3 separate regions of the Homo sapiens genome follow, and regions 2 and 3 are each linked to region 1. Evidence: promoter capture Hi-C in 16 types of primary human blood cells and fetal thymus (Javierre and others, 2016). All regions are on one chromosome and are shown on one strand. Each heading gives the region's core, a stretch centred on a gene start or on the middle of the fragment in contact. The rest is flanking DNA. Distances are from core to core; before and after follow the strand shown. Region 1 overlaps PILRA (paired immunoglobin like type 2 receptor alpha). Region 2 holds the start of ZKSCAN1 (zinc finger with KRAB and SCAN domains 1). Region 3 holds the start of MCM7 (minichromosome maintenance complex component 7).

Evidence for each region. The method cuts DNA at HindIII sites, captures the fragments that hold promoters and counts their contacts. A CHiCAGO score of 5 or more calls a contact.
Region 2: a contact is called between the fragment with the promoter of ZKSCAN1 here and a fragment that was not itself captured in region 1, in 1 of 17 cell types (non-activated CD4 T cells). The highest score is 5.1, in non-activated CD4 T cells.
Region 3: the fragment with the promoter of MCM7 here is called in contact with a fragment that was not itself captured in region 1 in 1 of 17 cell types (total B cells); the score reaches 6.2 in total B cells.

What each region holds. Positions count from the first base shown.
Region 1 is chr7:100,394,965-100,397,624 of GRCh38, forward strand. The region is part of intron 3 of PILRA (paired immunoglobin like type 2 receptor alpha); the gene reads left to right. Among named protein-coding and RNA genes, the nearest start is that of PILRA, 23 kb to the left of the region's middle. RefSeq lists an enhancer at 1,891-1,940. The HindIII fragment of the contact is 3,900 bases long and covers 1-2,660 here.
Region 2 is chr7:100,014,278-100,016,937 of GRCh38, forward strand. ZKSCAN1 (zinc finger with KRAB and SCAN domains 1) reads left to right here and starts at 1,319. Exons shown (of 6, transcript NM_003439.4): 1 at 1,319-1,449. RefSeq lists a silencer at 1,405-1,574. The HindIII fragment of the contact is 19,683 bases long and covers 1-2,660 here.
Region 3 is chr7:100,100,099-100,102,758 of GRCh38, forward strand. MCM7 (minichromosome maintenance complex component 7) reads right to left here and starts at 1,299. Exons shown (of 15, transcript NM_005916.5): 1 at 1,166-1,299. The coding sequence starts at 1,196. It overlaps AP4M1 (adaptor related protein complex 4 subunit mu 1), which reads left to right and starts at 1,545. Exons shown (of 15, transcript NM_004722.4): 1 at 1,545-1,674; 2 at 1,782-1,870; 3 at 2,577-2,660. The coding sequence starts at 1,617. RefSeq lists enhancers at 494-653, 999-1,551, 1,574-1,623 and a silencer at 764-863. The HindIII fragment of the contact is 6,263 bases long and covers 1-2,660 here.

The DNA.
Region 1 (2,660 bases), core at 48-2,547:
TAGGACAACATTAAACTTAAACATGTTTTTTCATTACAGGACACAATCAATAGAATCAAAAGGCAACCTATAGAATGGGGAAAATATTTGTAAATTATATATCTGATAAGGAGTGAAAATCTGAAATATATAAAAATTCCTATAATTCAACAACAAAAAAATCAACCCAATTTAAAAGTGGGCAGTGGATTTTAACAGACATTTCTCCAGAGATGATATATGCTATGGTCTGAAATGTGTCTCCTCAAATCATGTATTGGAAACTTAGTCCCCAGTGTGACAACTGGGAGGTAGTGTGTTTTGGGAGGTGCTTAGGTCATGACGGCTCTGCCAAACGGATTAATGCCATTATAAAAAGGGATTTCAGGAGTGGGTTCACTGTCTTCTAATCTTCTGCCATGTGAGGACACAGTAATCCTCCCCTCTGAAAGACACAGCAAAAAGCAAGATGCTGGCACCTTGATCTTGGATTTCCCAGCCTCCAGAACTGTGAGAAATAATTTTTGCTTTGCTTTGCTTTGTTTTACTTTTCAGCAACCTCTTGTCCAACAGAAGAAACAAATTTGTTTTTTTATAAATTATACAGGCTCAGATATTCTTATATACATTAGCAGCACAAAATAGACTAAGACAGTATACAAATCACCAACAAGCAGATGAAAATGGCCAACTAATCATCAGAGAAATGCAAATCAGAACTACAGAGAGCTATCTCCTTATACCCAGAAGGACAGCTACTATTTAAAAAGTGTGTAAATGACAAGTGTTGGGAAGAATGTGAAGAAATTGGGGCCCTTGCGCACTGTTGATGGGGGCTATAAAATAGTGCAAATGATACAGAAAAAAAGCATGGCCTTTCCTCAAAAATTTAAAAATAAAGGCCAGGAGTGGTGGCTCACACCTCAAATTCCAGCACTTTGGGAGGCTGAGGTGGCAGATCACCTGAGGCCAGGAGTTCGAGACCAGCTTGGCCAACATGGTGAAACACCATTTCCACTAAAAATACAAAATTAGCTGGGTGTGGTGGCGGGCACCTGTAATCCCAGCTACTCAGGAGGCTGAGGCAGGAGAATCACTTGAACCCGGGAGGCAGAGGTTGCAGTGAGCTGAGATTGTGCCACTGCACTCCAGCCTGGATGACAGAGCGAGACTTCATCTCAAAATAAATAAATAAATAAATAAATAAAGCTACCATACGATCCAGCAATCCCACTTTTGGGTACATACCAAACAGAACTGAAAAGAAAGGTCTTGAAGAGATATTGATACACCCATGTTGATAGCAACACTATTTTCAATGGCCAAGAGGTGGAAGCAACCCAGATGTCCATCAATGAATGAATGGATGAACAAAATGTGGTTTATACATATAATGGAATATTATTCAGTGTTTAAAAGAAATTCTGGGCCAGGTGCAGTGGCTCACACCTGTAATCCCAGCACTTTGGGAGGCCAAGGTGGGTGGATCACCTGAGGTCAGGAGTTCGAGACCAGCATGACCAACGTGGTGAAACCCTGTCTCTACTAAAAATACAAAATTACCCAGGCCTGGTGATGGGCGTCTGTAATCTCAGCTACTTGGGAGCTTGAGGCAGGAGAATCGCTTGAACCAGAGAGGCAGAGGTTACAGTGAGCCTAGATCACACCACTGCACTCCAGCCTGGGTGACAAGAGCGAAACTCTGTCTCAAAAAATAAAGAAAAAAAGAAATTCTGACACATACTACAGTATAAACGAAACTGGAAGACATCAAGCTAGGTGAAATAAGGCAGTCACAAAATGACAAATATTGTATGATTCCACTTTTCGGTGGTGCCTAGAGATATTAAATTAATAGGAACAGAAAGTAGAATGGTGGCTGTCAGAAACCGCAGGGAGGAGGGAGTAGGGGTTCTTTAAAACTGTTTCAGTTTTGCAAGATGAAAAGGTCCTGGAGATGTTTCACAACAGTGTGAATATACTTAACACTAATGAACTGTACACGTGGTTAAAAGTGAATTCTAGTGTTTTGTTTGTTTTTTTGTTTTTTTTTTACCGTAAGTAAAATAAAACATAACCTAAAGAGAGGGAAAAAACAGAGGGACAGAAGAGTGCTGGAAAGAAAGCTGCAGCATGGAAATGATACTAGCAATTAATATTTCAGAGTTCTCAGTCTAAACATTAAAAAAAAAAAAAAAAGTCCTGTAGAAGTGGAAGGGGAGGTCCCTGGAGTTGAGGGGTACCTCAAGGCCTGGGTTCAGAGGGTGTCTCTGTGGACATGGAGCCCTCCTGGGAGGAGGCTAGATGGTGGAGGGGATGTCTGTGGACCAGGAGCCCACTGCTTGGGAAACACTGCAAGGATGCCACGGGGATGGGAGGGGCAGGACACAATGGGAGAGGCAGCAGAGGATTCAGGGTGGGACCAGCCAGAGGGGAGGGGAAGCCTAGTGGTGGCAACAGAATTTGAACAGCCACAAACATGAGTCCCAAGCACGACGCTCCCAAGGCTGGAGGGCAGACATAGCCGCCACCCAGAAGGAAAGCACAGGCACGGTCTCCCTGAGGACCTGGAGGGAATGGGGGCGGGGTGCCAATGTCAAGGGAAGGGGAGGGGAGGGGAGAAGTGACTGGGCGAGGGCTCAGCGGTGGAGGGAGCCAGGTTGGGGCTGAGCAGAGAGCTC
Region 2 (2,660 bases), core at 69-2,568, 380 kb before region 1:
TACCCTGCACCCAGCTAATTTTAGTATTTTTTGTAGAGAGAGGGTCTCATTACGTTGCTTAGGCTGGTCTCCAACTCTTGGGCTCAAGAATCCTCCCGTCCCAGCCTCCCGAAGTGCTAAGATTACAGGCTTGAGTCATCGTGTCTGGCCCTGTCATTGCTTTTTAGTTTTCAAACATTTTTTAAAAAGTAAATCTGGCCGGGCACGGTGGCTCACGCCTGTAATTCCAGCACTTTGGGAGGCTGAGGCGGGTGGATCACAAGGTCAGTAGATCGAGACCATCCTGGCCAATATGGTGAAACCCTGTTCTCTACCAAAAATACAAAAATTAACCAGGCATGGTGGTGTGCGCCTGTAGTCCCAGGTACTCAGGAGGCTAAGGCAGGAGAATCGCTTGAACCTGGGAGGTGGAGGTTGCAGTGAGCCAAGATGGTGCCACTGCACTGCAGGCTGGGTGACAGAGCGAGACTCCATCTAAAAAAAAAAAGTAAATCTCTCCAAGCAGTAAGAGTCATGCAACCAAGCTACTGAGTTTCTCCCATGAACTTGTCTCGGAACATAGTGGAAAGTCACAACCATTAAAGCCTGTAGTCCCCCCCACCCTTGCACAACGTGGCCCCCTCTTATGCGTGCCTTACCCTGCAAGGCAAAGATGAAGGCTGTAACTGTGGTAGGTTGTGAAAGCACTTTGAAGGTAAAAGTGTCTGTTGTTACTCTGAAAACTCCTTTTAAACGGCTATAATAGCATATGCCACATGAGCAAAGCACAGAACCTTATAACTATGCTTGCTTGTGGAAAGACATCCCTTGTCCACGGGCCAAGTATTTGAAAATACCACTCCATATAGCTCCAGGGCCCTGAGAGAAGCTACCGTGGCAGCTTTGGGAAACCAGCCACCCTTGGCTTCACTTTGATCTTCCTCAGTCTACATCCTTGTTTCAGTTCCTTTGCCACAGACATACAATTACCAAGTACTATATTGCTTGATAATAACTATAATTACTACAAGGACTGCCTGAGATGAAAAAGACAGGTGAAATCGAACTTTCACATGGACTGGTGTCTGAGCTGGAGAGTCTGTTTGAGTTTGAGTAGGGGAAAGCCTGAAACCCCCCACCACCTGCTCCCGTTAGTCCCTGCATTAACTAGGGGCGGACTGGGACCTGATCCTCCAAGCTGGAGGCTTGAAAACTCAAGGGCAGGCGCCTGGTCCAGCGATTCGGAAACCGAGATGCAAAGTCCTCCCGCGCTCCTAGAGAGGACCCGGAAGCGCGGCGCGGTCCCGGAAGACGAGGTGGTGACACGCTTCCGGCCTTTGTGACTCATTGTGTCTGTGTCGAGGCGTCGGGAGGGCCTAAGTCCGTGTGCGGTGCCCTTCGGCCGGCCTGAGCCCCAGAGTCAGCTCCCCTTTCTCGCCCAGCGCCCCCAGGCCGCTCCCGGGGCTCACGGTGAGACTTGGGGCCGGCCTCTGGGGTGGGAGGGCGGGGCCGCAAGGGTGTGTGCGCGAGGGTGGGCTCCGCAGCTGCGGCCCTGGGACCCCCTCCAGGCGGCCCCGCTGTTGTGCGAAGAGAGTCCATGCCCCTGCCTCCTGGCCGGGCCCGGCCGTAGAAAGCGCCGTTCTTCCTGGGAGACGTCCCCGCCCCACCCCCAGGATCAGGCGGGGAGGGGGCGAGGGTTTCAGTGGCTGAGGGTGCCCGGAGACCCGGGGAGAAGCCGTCTGTGGGCCCCTCTCCCGCAGTGTCGTCATCGCCCTTTGACGTTTCTGCAAACGGGGTCGCGAGCGAACCGACCCCGGTCTTGATTTTTCTGCTCTCCCTTAGTCGCCATTTGCTTTGATTCCGGTGAGGTGTCTTTTTCCCCCCCCGGTTCCTTCGGGACCTCGAGGTGAAATGAGCGGAAGGATGAGAGATGGACACATTTTGAGGTGCCGCATACGTTTCCAGACCTGCCTTTCCTTCTCCCACCCTCATCACTGAGCGGTGATTAAAGAGTATTTGAAGCCTAGTCATAGTGGATAAATAGGTGATTGGGATCTAGTAGAGATTATATACACCCCACTCTTTCAGCTTGATGGAATGCTTTGAAGGCTTTGGAAAAGAGCTGTCCGGGACGTTAGGTGGATTTTTCAATTCTGGATAGTTGCTCTGTTTGACATGGAGTGGGGTGAGAAGTGAAGGGAATTTGTGGAAATTGCACTGTGTCACTAGGAGACTGATTAGCTGAGTGACCTTGGATAAGACGAGACACTCACCAAGTCTTAATTTCGTCATCAATAAAAACTAACTGGATTTTCTCAAAAGGCCCTTCCGACTTCGAAATGATTTGGTCAATGTAATTGAAGAATTAACTACAGTTTAGCTTGACACTCCTCCATCCCTCCCCTCCCTTTCCTGCAGTGCCCCCTGTACACAGTAAGATACTTTCATTATAGAGAGTGGCTGTTCCATGGCCTGGGACCAAAGAAAGCATTTATTGTACGGGCCAGTGCTAGGCGGATTGGAGGCGGTCAATAAATACTTGTTGAATTGAATTGTGGAGAATTCATTGTAACCACATCAGCAAAGCACTGTTAGTATATATGCTGAACAAATGTGGAGAAATCGCTGTTTTACATAGGAAACCATGGTGATTTGCCCCAGAATGTGTATCCAGGTTTGTA
Region 3 (2,660 bases), core at 49-2,548, 290 kb before region 1:
ACATGAAATGTAAAACCGTAAGACACAAACTTTAAGACAAATCTTAGATACCCATTTTCGCTTAAAACACGACCTATGAACTAATTAATAATATGAGCATTTAAATAAACCTACCGAAGTCTCCCCAAAGTGGGCATAACTCTTTTTCACAAGTCTGTTTCTAACCAGCGAAGAATAAAGAGCCCGTGGCAGTGCACAGGGCCATCCAACATCTCCCCAGGGGAATTCCGGTCCCTACTTTAGTTTAAAATTCTAGCGCCCTTCCCCGTTGGCCCCTCACACTCCGGTCTCAAGGTTCTCAGCTTTCTTTCCACCCCTATGATCCCCCGCCTTCTTTGGGTCCCCTTAGCCCCTGATTTCACCGGGACCTCCGCCACCGCACCCCGCCACCGCACCCCACCCCCGCTCCCGCCATCGCTTCCGCTCTTAGTAAACAAAGAAGCACATGGGCCCGGATTCCAGCCGCTTCACAGCTCGGGATTCCTCCGCCCAGGGCGGGAGCCAGTCCAGCCATTGGCCATCACACCCAGAGACACCGCGATCCCAGCCCACTGCCGCCTTTCCCGGGCCCGAGCGAAGCTCCGGATCCCAGGCACGCCCCCCCGGGCCGCAGCTCTCTCCGCGGCCGCCGCGCGGAAGGACACTGTTTACACGACACTCCCTCCAGCCTCCTCGCGCCACTTCCGCCCGGCTCCACTTCCGCTCGGAGGGCGGCCTCAAACGGCCAATCCCGGCGCGCAGCGGCCCCGGCCTGCCCGCCCCCGGGGCCTACGCGCGCCTGGGGAGGGCGCGGGAACCTGGGAATGCCCAAAAGCGCGAAGGAAAGCGGGCACGGGAGCCCAGAGCCCTTAAGACTCTCCTGAGGTCCTGGGCGCGACTTTTCCCTGTGCAGCCCCCAGCCGGGTTAGCGCGCCCCCAAGCCCCCAACCCCACGACCCTAACACCTTTACCAGGTGGGATTACTAGCTTTTCTTCAACATCGATGGCCCCCCGCACGCTTCCCAGGCCCCGTGGGCCTTAGCCAGGCCGCAGCTCGACCCTGCCTCTGGCCTCGCGCACCCCAGAACCCGCCGACCCCGGTCCCCCAAGACCCCAGCTCACACCAACAGGTGTTCCCCGGGAGGCTCCCCGCGCAGGACGCCCTCCCGGGCTCGTAGACCCGTACCCTTCTCTAGCGCGTAGTCCTTCAGTGCCATCGCTGCCGAGGGCCGTGCGGCCGCGCTTGGCGGGCTCAGAGGTCTTGCTCCTGGGGAAGCTGAGAATCTCCGCGCGGTGGACTGTGGCCGGCCAACCGAAATTGGCGCGAAACGTCGCCCCCCACGTGACCGGCGCCACTGCGTGCGGGCCAATCGGACAAGGCGGCCTTCTTCACCTCCCGCTAGCCGCAAGCCAATCACCGTGCGGGCCTAGAATGAGTGACGGGGAGGCGGTGCGGGCGTCGGAAGGGAATCTCCGGGCGGGGTAGTGCAGGCGCCGGGTTTCCCGCGGTCCGAGCTGGCGCGGGCGGAGGAGAATCGCTCTTAAAGGGCCAGCGCACACGCGTTCTTTTGTTCCGGGGCCGCAGGGCGGGGCAGGCCCGACTTTCGCCGTCTTCTTGTCTACTCTCCAGAACGGCCATGATTTCCCAATTCTTCATTCTGTCCTCCAAGGGGGACCCGCTCATCTACAAAGACTGTATCCTAGACCCTTGGGGCTGGGAAGGGGCGGAGGGGCCGGGCGGGAGGGGCGCCCAGGGCCAGCCTGTGTCGCAGGATCCTTCACTGAGTCCTTCCACCCGCCAGTCCGCGGGGACAGTGGCGGCCGGGATGTGGCCGAGCTCTTCTACCGGAAGCTGACGGGACTGCCAGGAGACGAGTCCCCGGTTGTCATGGTAACCAGTGGCGGGAGGCGGGTGAGGAGCGGGGTCCCGTCGGGCCGGGTGGGCGCCAGCTCCCTCCCAGGACTGGTTCATTGGTAGATTCCACTTGGGGGGTGCATTCCGCCAAATAAAGCTAACGTGAGGCCCGGCGCGGTGGCTCACGCCTGTAATCCCAGCACTTTGGGAGACCGAGGCGGGCGGATCACCTGAGGTCAGGAGTTCGAAATCAGCCTGGCCAACATGGTGAAACTCCGCCTCTACTAAAAATACAAAAAAAAAAAAAACATAGCTGGGCGTGGTGGCGGGCGCCTGTAATCCCATCTACTCGGGAAGCTGAGGCTTGAGAATCGCTTGAATCCAAGAGGCAGAGGTTGCAGTGAGCCGAGATCCGGACACCGCACTCCAGCCTGGGAGACAGAGCGAGACTCCCTCTCGGGGTAGGTGGGGGTGGGGAAAAAAAAAAAAAGAGTCAATGGGCGCCAGCAACACACCAGGCCCAGCTCCCTGCGTGACTCCATCCTCAGCAACTCGGGGTAGTTAGTGTAATTAACCCCCTTTCCACATTGGGAAGCTGGGCCCAGGCATATGTCATGTATCTCCCAAAGGCACTGCTGTTGTGACTAGTAAGAGGCATCGGGATCCGAGCTCAGGTCTCCTGGGTTCTGATCACTCCACCTCCCTTTTTTTAACGCCTCTCTTCTCCCTGCCTGTGTCTCAGCATCACCATGGCCGTCATTTCATTCACATCAGACACAGCGGCCTCTATTTGGTGGTCACAACTTCAGAAAACGTTTCTCCCTTC